3 separate regions of the Homo sapiens genome follow, and regions 2 and 3 are each linked to region 1. The links are contacts of gene promoters, found by promoter capture Hi-C in blood cells and fetal thymus (Javierre and others, 2016). All regions are on one chromosome and are shown on one strand. The core of a region is centred on a gene start or on the middle of the fragment in contact, and the rest is flanking DNA. Distances in the headings are between cores, read along the strand shown. Region 1 holds the start of MBD2 (methyl-CpG binding domain protein 2). Region 2 overlaps SMAD2 (SMAD family member 2). Region 3 overlaps LMAN1 (lectin, mannose binding 1).

Evidence for each region. The method cuts DNA at HindIII sites, captures the fragments that hold promoters and counts their contacts. A CHiCAGO score of 5 or more calls a contact.
Region 2: a fragment that was not itself captured here is called in contact with the fragment with the promoter of MBD2 in region 1 in 1 of 17 cell types (neutrophils); the score reaches 5.9 in neutrophils.
Region 3: a fragment that was not itself captured here is called in contact with the fragment with the promoter of MBD2 in region 1 in 1 of 17 cell types (non-activated CD4 T cells); the score reaches 7.3 in non-activated CD4 T cells.

What each region holds. Positions count from the first base shown.
Region 1 is chr18:54,223,061-54,226,644 of GRCh38, forward strand. It overlaps MBD2 (methyl-CpG binding domain protein 2), which reads right to left and starts at 1,609. Exons shown (of 7, transcript NM_003927.5): 1 at 958-1,609. The coding sequence starts at 1,499. RefSeq lists a silencer at 1,310-1,699 and enhancers at 2,450-2,992, 2,993-3,533. The HindIII fragment of the contact is 9,949 bases long and covers 1-1,975 here.
Region 2 is chr18:47,912,201-47,915,784 of GRCh38, forward strand. All of the region lies in intron 1 of SMAD2 (SMAD family member 2), which reads right to left. Among named protein-coding and RNA genes, the nearest start is that of SMAD2, 17 kb to the right of the region's middle. The HindIII fragment of the contact is 1,025 bases long and covers 1,395-2,419 here.
Region 3 is chr18:59,352,498-59,356,081 of GRCh38, forward strand. It overlaps LMAN1 (lectin, mannose binding 1), which reads right to left. Exons shown (of 13, transcript NM_005570.4): 2 at 3,007-3,161; 3 at 2,816-2,923; 4 at 2,022-2,083; 5 at 705-804. Among named protein-coding and RNA genes, the nearest start is that of LMAN1, 5.0 kb to the right of the region's middle. The HindIII fragment of the contact is 2,400 bases long and covers 786-3,185 here.

The DNA.
Region 1 (3,584 bases), core at 359-2,858:
AACTACTGAATACAAGTTTATATTATCTTCTATCAATAGCATGGCTTATTACAAAATTTAGTAAATGTGTATTAAGTCCACGGATGTCAATTGCCATAGGCACTTTCTTGAGCTTACTGGGTCACACAAACTGAAGACATCAGCAGCATGACCACGGGATTGCAAGATTACACTAAGGTGAAAAACCTTGAATCATTTAAAACAGGATGTCTCAACCTCAGCACAGGTGACAATTTGGGCCAGATCATTCTTTGTTGTGGCAGCTTTCCTTTGTATTATCGAATATGTAGCAGCATCTCTGGCCTCTACCCACTAGATGCCAGTATCACACCCTCCCCAGGTGTGAGAACCGAAAATGTCTCCAGACATTGACAAATGTTCCCTGGGGAGCAAATTTTGGTCTAGGAGTCTAAAAACTTAGTACAGTGTGTCAGTTTCAAAAGAGTATATTCTGCAATACCAAGAAGTTCCAAAAAAACTTCAGGCATTCCAAATAGCTGCTTTATACAAAACTTTCTTGGATGAAGTAAATGAAACCTTGTTACTGTAGATAGCTCATTCTTCCACATGTGCATGCTTAACACTTGTGATGATGAATCTGGGACAGGCTGGGACAGGAGCCAACAGTGACTGGGTTTTATAGTTTCGATGAATTACACCTCCTTTTAACCCTTCAGTGGACTAACCATCCCTGCCAGGCTAACCCTTTCTTCGCAAACCATCTTCCCCGACGCCTTCCACATAAGATGCCCTCCTGCGGGCCCTCACCTTTTGACACTGCCTCCCACCGCACTGGGGTCAACTCTCACCCAAGGGTTCCGCCACCTTCCACCACCAAACCAGCCTGTCCCTGCCACATGCCCCCCGGGCCCCAGCGCTCATCCTCTGCCCAGGCCCGCTCTTGACCCCTGACCCCGGCCTGACCCCGCCACCCCCTCCCCGCCCCCAGGGAGGTACCTGAAGTAGTAGACATCGCTCTTGCCAGCACTTAGCCCAGATTTTCGGATCACTTCCTCCTTCTTCCATCCGGGGGGGAGGGCCGGGCAATCCATCCTCTTCCCGCTCTCCGTGGCCCGGGGTCCCCTGGGCCCCGGCCCCGCGCTCCCCGACGGGAAAGGGACCGGCTCCCGCCGGGGGGCGCCGCCGCCACCGCTGCCGCCGCCGCCGCAGCCGCCGCCGTCGCCGCCAAGGCCGCTGCCGCCACTCGGGGGACGGCCGCGGCCCCGGCCCCGGCCCCGTCCCCGTCCCCGGCCACGGCCCCGGCCCCGGCCACGGCCACAGACGCCGCCGCCCCGGCCCGCCTGCTTCCACCGCCCCCGGCCACGGCCGCCGCCCCGAGCGCCTTCCCTGCGCACGCCGCTCACCGGGGACGGGGCGAGCGCGCTGCCCTGGCCCCCCTGCTCTATGGCGGAGTCGCCGCCAGCGCCGCTGCCGCCCGCCGCACTCTCCCCCTCCTCCTGCTCCGGGCAGCAGCGGCCTCCCCCCGGGTGCGCGCGCATCCAGCCCCCTCCCCAGCCGGCGCTGCGCTTCTTCCGTAACCGAGCCCTTGGAATCCCGGAGACCCGCCCCGCCCGCAGCGCGGCGCGCGGGGGACGCGCGCAAGCATCATAGAGCGGGCGCGCACAGAGCGGCCCTCCTGCCCGGGGCGTGGCCCCGGCCACCGCCTCTTAGGTCCTCCAAGCGCTATGGGCGGCCATCTTGTCTCCGCCTTCTCGGGGCCACGCCCCCTCCCGCGCTTTTCCGGCCCCCACTGGGCGCGCGGAGCTGGGAAGGTTGGTCGGGCTAGCCACCAGCTGGGGGTGTCATAGTGACTGTGGTTAGTTTGTTTCAAACGGGGTAACCTCCACCATTATGTGATTTTACCTATGTTTGCTTCCCAATTAATGAATAACAAGCAAAATAGATCTTATATTACATACCAACTCGGCTATTCATTTAAGGGGGTGATAGCCCCTTTTCCCGCCCCTCTGCACAAAGCTTGCAGGGGAGCTTATAATGAAGGAATGAAGCAAAGTGTCCCATTCGCTGAATACCAGTTCCCTCCTGAGCCTGGCTTCAGAGCCATTGACAGATTCTCCTGGAACCTTGTAAGGATGTAGGAAAGGAAATGATAACTTGGAATATGCCCATGAGTCAGATGGGGCTTACCTCTAGATTCTCCTTAGAATGACCAGAATCCCTAAATCCATCTAGAAATTTCCAGATGTCTTTGTCTAATACAAAAATCAGTGGCCTTTTATTTGGTAAATATTCCATTATGTTGAAAGTCCAGCCTAACTTACTGTCACAAGCCTTTAGGAAACTGTGTGGTATTCTTTTCGGTCTGCCAACTTGAATTTTAGAAATGCATATTTTCTATAAGTTGTCGAACACTTATAGAAGTGTGCTATTGATATTCAAGATAATATATTATGAAATATTTGGAAGATTGAAAAATGTAAAGCACATGTTATCAGCCTGATGATAAGCTATCTTGGGTTTCTATACTCATATGCCCTAAAAACTGAGGACCAAGTTTAACGTATAGAAAAAGTTGATTAATATAAAGCAACAAAAATCTAAAATTAATTTGGTTTATCTTTGCAGTATATGCAAACATTAACTCATACACACAAACTTGTCTGTCTCTAAACCTGACCTTAGTCTTCTTTTAATGTCCTTTAGTTGAAAGACACTAATTTGTGGTTTCCTACAAGAAATTTAGAAATGTGAATGTAAAAAATCATCAAGAAATGAGTTCTGAGGAGATCAGTACTGGAGACATTCATTTAGAAGTCATCTGTGGGCCGGGCGCGGTGGCTCACGCCTGTAATCCCAACACTTTGGGAGGCAGAGGCGGGCAGATCACCTGAGGTCAGGAGTTCAAGACCAGCCTGGCTAACACGATGAAACTCCGTCTCTACTAAAAATGCAGAAAATTGGCTGGGCGTGGTGGCGGGCGCCCGTAGTCCCAGCTGCTCCGGAGGCTGAGGCAGGAGAATGGCGTGAACCCGGGAGGCGGAGCTTGCAGTGAACTGGATCACGCCACTGCACTCCAGCCTGGCAGACAGAGCGAGACTCTGTCTCAAAAAAAAAAAAAGAAGTCATTTGTGGCCGGGCGCGGTGGCTTACTTCTGTAATCCCAGCACTTTGGGAGGCCGAGGCCGGCGGATCACGAGGTCTAGAGATAGAGACCATTCTGGCCAACATGGTCAAACCCCATCTCTATTAAAATACAAAAATTAGCTGGGCGTGCTGGCGTGCGCCTGTAATCCCAGCTACTCGGGAGGCTGAGGCAAGAGAATCGCTTGAACACGGGAGGCGGAGATTGCAGTGAGTCGAGATCCCGCTACTGCACTCCAGCCTGGCAACCGAGCGAGACTCCGTCTCAAAAAAAAAAAGTCATTTGTGAAAGTGACAGTTGAAGGAGGCCCTGGAAGTAAGTAAGCTCTCCAAGGAAGGGCTTGCGTGGTTAATAATAAAAGGAAAGAGGATCAAGAACTGAATCTTGAGGAATGCCAATACTTAAGGTTCCACTGAAGGAATAAAGGAAAAAAATGATATTAAAGTTTGTATGACATAAGAGAGTACTCTGATTTTCACAC
Region 2 (3,584 bases), core at 657-3,156, 6.3 Mb before region 1:
AGAAGATGAGGGGAAAATAAGGCCAGTGCAGATTAAAGAGCTGAAGACAGAAATTACTGCTAATGATAGGAGTATTACTTCATTTATTCCAGTGACAATTTGCATTTTGAATGACCTACTGGACGTGCAGTTTAGGGAAAAGGATTGAAACACAACTAATGTGACCGACTACCTAATGTAACTGAGTGGCATGTAATGGTACATTCATCACTATTAGGAATGAGGAAAGAGAAGCAACCCTGAAGGCTAAAGGGTCAGTTTTATACATGCCTTTATGTAAGTAACTATGTTCATCACATGGCCAGGAGGCAGCATAAAATATAGTAGACTCAGGGGAGCTAGCAGTCAGTGTACAAGTAAGAGTGTGTGCCAGAGCTAGGCAGAGACAACTGGTGTCTTGAAGAAAAGCAGAGCAGCCAATCTCTAGGCTTGGTTTCTGAGGACTGTCCAGGCCTGTTCCAGCTCCACAATTATATCCTCAGAACAAAACCTCTTTTTGAGTTAGCATGAGTAATCTCTCTGTTCCTTGTGAAAAACTGATAGAAAAAGCAAAATAAAAGAATCTCCCTACAAGTATCTGTATCTTTGGTTCAATTATTCCATTCATAAGAATTTAGCCTAAAAAAAGAATAAAAAATGAAACTTCTGTATAAACAGCAAAAAAAAAAAAAAAAAAAAAAGGGATTTCCAGCATTAGGAGGAATGAGAGTAAACAGTTTCTGTAACACTTTTTTTTTTTGAGGAGTTTCACTCTTGTTGCCCAGGTTGGAGTGCAATGGCGTGACCTCAGCTCACTGCAACCTCCACCTCCCAGGTTCAAGCAGTTCTCCTGCCTCAGCCTCCGGAGTAGCTGGGATTACAGGCACGCGTCAACACGCTCGGCTAATTTTTTGTGTTTTTAGTAGAGATGGGGTTTCACCATATTGGCCAGGCTGGTCTCAAACTCCTGACCTCAGATGATCCATCCGCCTCGGCCTCCCAAAGCACAGGGATTACAGGCATGAGCCACAGCGCCCAGCCTGTTACACTTTCGTTAGGAGAAATGTTTCTTATGAGTTAAGCTGTATTCCTGGGGATCTAAAAGTTTTCTATAAAACCTTTACAATATTGTTTCTTCACTGAAATGAAACTAACTTAAGTTTAGGCCTATTCTGGGTCATCTGAATGGCCACATGACCTGGTATTGCCACATGATTTCAGTGTCCCATGTCTTACAAGAGGAGTTAAAACCATTTTGGAACTAAGTGAACACTTAAAGTTGCCAGCCTTACCTTTGCATGTCTCAGTAACCATGGTTGGCTGACATCTGTCTAATATCTCCGGAGAATTTTTAAATTATGTAATAAAATAACATTTGTTGTAAGTAATGCTGATAATACATCTTCAATTAGTTAAGCTTTTATTTTAAAAACTGAAGCATTTTTAGCCAATATTTTTGAAGTGTAAATAGACTGAATGTAGGCTGACAAGGAACAGATAACAATGTGTTCCAGGTTAAAAACAAATGAAATACAAAAAAGAAAACTAGATTTATAATCAAGTTGCTATCAAAACGTGAATGAGTCATTTACAGAATATACAGATTTCCTTCAATGGTGTGGCAGCAAGTTCTCTACTGAAATAAATTTTCAACATCTGCAAGAATTGAAATCTAAGTTCAGACACTATTTCTAATTCCAGCAATAAGTGATACTTACATAATGCAGATTTCAAAAGAACACAAAGACTATCTTTACAGCTGAATAAGTCAGCTTACCAAATGATACCTTAGTAAAATTAGGATTCTACGATTACTCACCGGAAAGTTTCAATAAGGTAAGAGGTCTAATTATCCTGAACTTGTAGTAAAGCCTTCAAGTTATTAACTCTATATTATAGTTTGACAAATAGCATTCTCTGCACATTTAATTAAACAACAGTGCATACTCTTTCCAGAGTCCTCAACTATGTGGTCCTTTTCTTACTGTTTTTATTCTGACATAAACCCTATCACTGAGTATGTATTACAAAAAAATCTCCAAATCCTTAGAATGACTTTTCATTTTATGTTGTCTTTTGGAACACACAAAGCTGTATTTTAATTAAAAATCTTTTATGCCACAACCTTGCTTTTCAAAGAAATCTTGCTGTGCCTCTAAATATAGTAGGAAACATTTATTGAGTGCTTAAGCCTAAGAGTCCAGTAAGCAAGAATTCCGAATCCTAAGAACCAACTGGGGTTAGGTACTATTATTTACAAATGAAGAATGTGAGGCACAAATAAATACCCTGACGTAATACAGAGAATCCCCTCTAGATATTCTTATGGATGCTTTAGTTTACTTTTCATATTAAGTTTCTAAAAGAAAGATCAGAAATTTGGTTTTAAGAGGTGAGACAGTGATCTAACCATCTCTCATAAGGACAGCCTGTGTATTAAAGCTTACCTTTTGCTAAGTCATAATGCCACTTCTGTCGCATAACAAATTCCTACTAAAGGTCTGATCACACGCATTCTGTTATTTGTTCACACTTAACATCAATGTAAGAAAATATTAATTACTACTGCTTTCTAGTTAGTCTTGATATTTGTCAGGGTGACCCCCCTTCCTTATTTTTCAGATGTGTAGTATTGCTGGTTACTTTAAGTTTAGCATGTTCTACAAAAATCCTATAGGATTTTGATTGGAAGTGCAATGAATTTATATTAGTTTATGGAGAACATATTTATGATATCAAGTACTCCGACTATGCAAATGAGTATTTCCATTTATTTATTATCTATTGATAAGTTGCATATTTTCTCCATAAAAAATCTTACATCTTGTCAAATTTACTTATTTCTCCAGGTATCTTGGTTTTTATTGTAAATGGGGACTTTAATTACACAAAAATATTACACTCAACACTCATGTACTTTCCATCTAGCTGTCATATCTTAGCATTTTGCAGTACTTGATCAGACATAAGAAATAAGATACGAATACAGCTAAAGCCCCCTATGTATTCCTCTTTGATAACATTTCCCTCCCTCTTGCTTCTCAGAGATTATCACTATCCTGATGTTCCCCCATGGTCATTTAACAGTTTTGCTACATATTGTATCCATACAATACAGTTCTGTACATTTTATAAATTTATATGAAAGTGTGATACTGTTCAGTCCATGCTGATACATACATAATCCTAAATCCTAGTTCATTCATTTTAGCTGTCACATGGCATTCCATTTTATGACTAGCACAGTTCACTGTCCATTCACTCTGGATGACTAGTTAGGTTTCCAATTTTCCTCTCTCACAACCTGCTATGAATAGGCTGGTATATATCATTTTATACCATGTAAAAGCTCTTCTAGGGCAGAAAATTTCAAACTTTCAAACTTTTTAACCAAAAAAAGTCCCACAGTGAAAAGTACATTTTACATGCAACCTAGTATATACACACACACTTTGCTAAAAAAGACATTTCACCATATGCTGCACTCTACAATTTCTCTAAACTGAGGGTCGCGAACCGTGAGTGGGCATGAAATCAATAATTCTAACAAATGTTTACACTAATGTAACCACAATCCCCAAAAAAACAACATTTCCAGCACCTCA
Region 3 (3,584 bases), core at 736-3,235, 5.1 Mb after region 1:
TTTCAACCTCACTGCTCACTGATCTCTTCTATCTCCCAGCCACACCAAACTACATGCCTTTCCAAAATATTTCAAGCTCTCTCAAGGGCCTATGCCTGCTTTCTGTGCTTGGAGTACACCCACTCACTCGCACACACACACACCCTCTTCCCCCAACTCCCAGGAACTTCCTGATCTCCCTGTAGGGCACAGCTCAACTCTGAGAAAATGTTCCTGCCCTTCCCCACCTCCACCTGGCAGTTACAGGATTCTAACCACAGGACCGCTTGATAGTGTCTGCAACGCAGCATTTATCACACAGCATAGGAATGATACATTTGTGTGTCCTCTGTTAGGCTATAAGCTCTCTGGGGAGAAAGTCCATCTGTCTTACTCATATTTGTATCCTGAAGGCTTGGAGATTATCCGTCTATCTATCTATCTACCTATCTATCTATCTATCTATAGATATATATATCTCTCACATGTGCTATACAGTAGGGGGCTTAAACATTTACTGACTAAATGGAAACATACCATCAGGGGTTTACAACAGATGACCACTTACACTGAGCTGTGAAGCCACCTCCGTTCTCTTAGAGTAACAATGAAGAGTATGTAAGCATATCCAAATTTAAGTGCATTTAATTTCTATCAAAAATTCAAAATGAAAAGTGATACTGTAACATTGTTTATTTGATTCTCTCTAAATAGATGTTACTTACTGTCAGTGTGTTCTGGTAATAGGTAATCTTTGCTCGGACAGGATAGGGTTTGTTGCGGAAGTCCCTCTGGCAACTTGCCAAAGCTTGACTAGCCCCGTCACTATAGTGTAAGGGGGAGGAAAACAGACAAGACACTCAGCTTTTCAATATTTAAAAATTCAGGAAGACTAAAATAATATCAAGTTATGAAAAAGTCTTGAGATACTTTATGTTATTTACTCAAAAGACTACACGAGACTACATGAGACTAAGGCAGTGAATCTCTACCCTAGGGCAGAACATGAATCACTCTCTGGGCTTTTAACATGTAGATTCCACTCCAAATCAACTGAAGCAGAATCAAAAGGAGGTGGCCTAGGCACCTCCATTTTAAATAGCTCCATAGGGAGTTATGATGAACTACCAGGGCTGAAACTCACTAAGGCAGAAAAACAGTAAACAGGCACATGGATAAGTCACCTTTCTTACAGTTCACTGGTTAAAAGCTATTTCCTCCACAACAAACACGTGAAAATAAAAAATGTACATACCTAATTTATATACATTATAAATATACAGTCATCCTTCAACATCCATAGGACATTGGTTCCAGGACCCCTGTGGATACCAAAATCCTCAGATGCTGAAGTCCCTTATATAAAATGGCACAGTATTTACATATAACGTGTACATATCCTCTTGTATACTTTAAATCATCTCTAGATTACTTATCACACCTAATATGATGTAAATGCTTTGTAAATAGTTGTTACAATGTATTTTAAAATTTGTATTCTTGTTGCGTACACAAAATAATTTGTATTATTTTTGATCTGCAGTTGGTTGAATCCACAGATACGGAACCCACAAATACAGAGGGTTGACTGTACTGAACACTTAGAATCTCTGCAAACCACTGAGTCTTTAAATAACACAATATTGAAGTTAAATAAGATGGCATAAATTGCTTAATCATCAGCCTTAATAATCAAGGCTCAACTTTATTTTTTAAAGATCCCTTTTAATGAAGATAAAAATGCATGATTAGTGGCATCACTGAGAGCCAGGAACAGTCTATAAACTTTCAAAAGTATATTATTAAATAATTTGAGGTTAAATTAAAAACACATACCATGGTTGAATCTGAGATGGTCCACAGATAGAACTTCAGAACAGAACCAAATAAAATAAAACCTTTCTACCAAGTTACAAAATATGTCTCAAGAAAAAGAACAGTATTTTTTTCATTTGGAAGGTGTTCAGATTTGAAACAATGTATTTCATAAGGATTCCAAAAAGAAGCTGAAATCAGGAGTAATGTAAAAAACACACACTTACTTTTGATGGTCATAATGGATTTGTCCATTGTTGCCTATAATTACTATAGCAGGATTATTTTTCTAAAAAAAAGGAAAACATTTTAAAAAATGTCTTTAATCAAAGCATTCTACATCATTCTTGATGTACTATGAAGTGACTTACATATCTAAGATTCTAGGACTCAAAATTTTAAAATAACCTGGCCTTGGCACTCAAGGAATTACTAAAGTTCTTTAAATTGCTAACAATAACCCCTGAAAATTAATAGAGAAACAACCAGCTGATGGGAAGATCATCAACCTTAAGGCTGTTAAGCCACAAGCTAATGTTTCCAATTTGTAAGTACATTTTGATCTTAACTGTTTTAGGAGAGATCATCAGAAAAATTGGCCCGATCAAAAAGAATGATTAACATATGACCAGACATGAATATGTGAGCTAGCATTAGTCATGGACTTGGATGTGCTTATGTAAGTGTTTAGTAGAGTCTCCTAAACACTACTGTTTTCACCACCTACGTCTAAGGATTTGTATTTATCCATTAAATAGGGCCATGGGAGCAGGGGTCACTGCAAAGTTCTGAGAGTCAGGGCTCTACTATGCCCTCAAGCTGATGTACAAAAAATCATGCACATGTAAATTAAACTGATACATTCCTAGCTATATAAAGACTAATTATCACATTTACCATATAGCTTGGGGAGTTCTGTACTATCAAACTGATGAAAGCATTGAATAAGCTATTATTTCTCACAGCCTAACTCTGTTGATAGATGTATTAAAGTGGATAACAGTCCTGACAATAAATATACCTTTCCATCATTGTCAAAAGAATCAAAAAATATTCCAACACCATTCCACAGATCAGCTGATCCAAACACAGGGCCCTCCAAGCCTTGATTTTCTGCATACCAAATTGCCTGAAAATATGTAATAGGGAACAGTTAGAGGCTAGTGGTATATGCATTTATGCACATTTTCTAAGTTAAAGAAATGATCATACTAGGCCATCAGCTCCAATTCGACCTCTTCCAGTCACTCGAAATGTCACCTCAACTTCCCAGTTCTCAAAGGCCGCTTTTGTCTTTGTCCACACTGAGCCTCTTTGGCTTTTTAAAGATGGTGCTACTCGAATTTGATCTGAACTTGGAATAGCATCTAGAACAGAAATCAGGGGAAAAAAGCTTTAAGTTATAATTAGGTAAAACTCAATGATCATTTCCAAACTGCTAAATATACCTACAGAGACTTAGTAACCTGTACAATAATGATTTGGAAAAAATTTCATGTTGACAGTTTTAACTTTAAAAGTTTAGGGCTAACACCTCCCTTATCAAATAAAAAAAATTAAAGCTACACTCATACACTAAAAATTACAGGGACAGTGGGTGAGAGAAAGGGAATTATGACTTTAAGGCAAACTATCTGAGTCTCATAACATTCTTTTTAAAAACCTTAAAAATTTGTATTTTTAGAAAAGCTGCAACGTATTTTACCTGTTTGCAAAGGTTAGAAAGCTCAAACAGTGTGAAAAGAACATACCACTAGGAATCAAGAGACTTGTTCCTAGTCTCAGTTCAG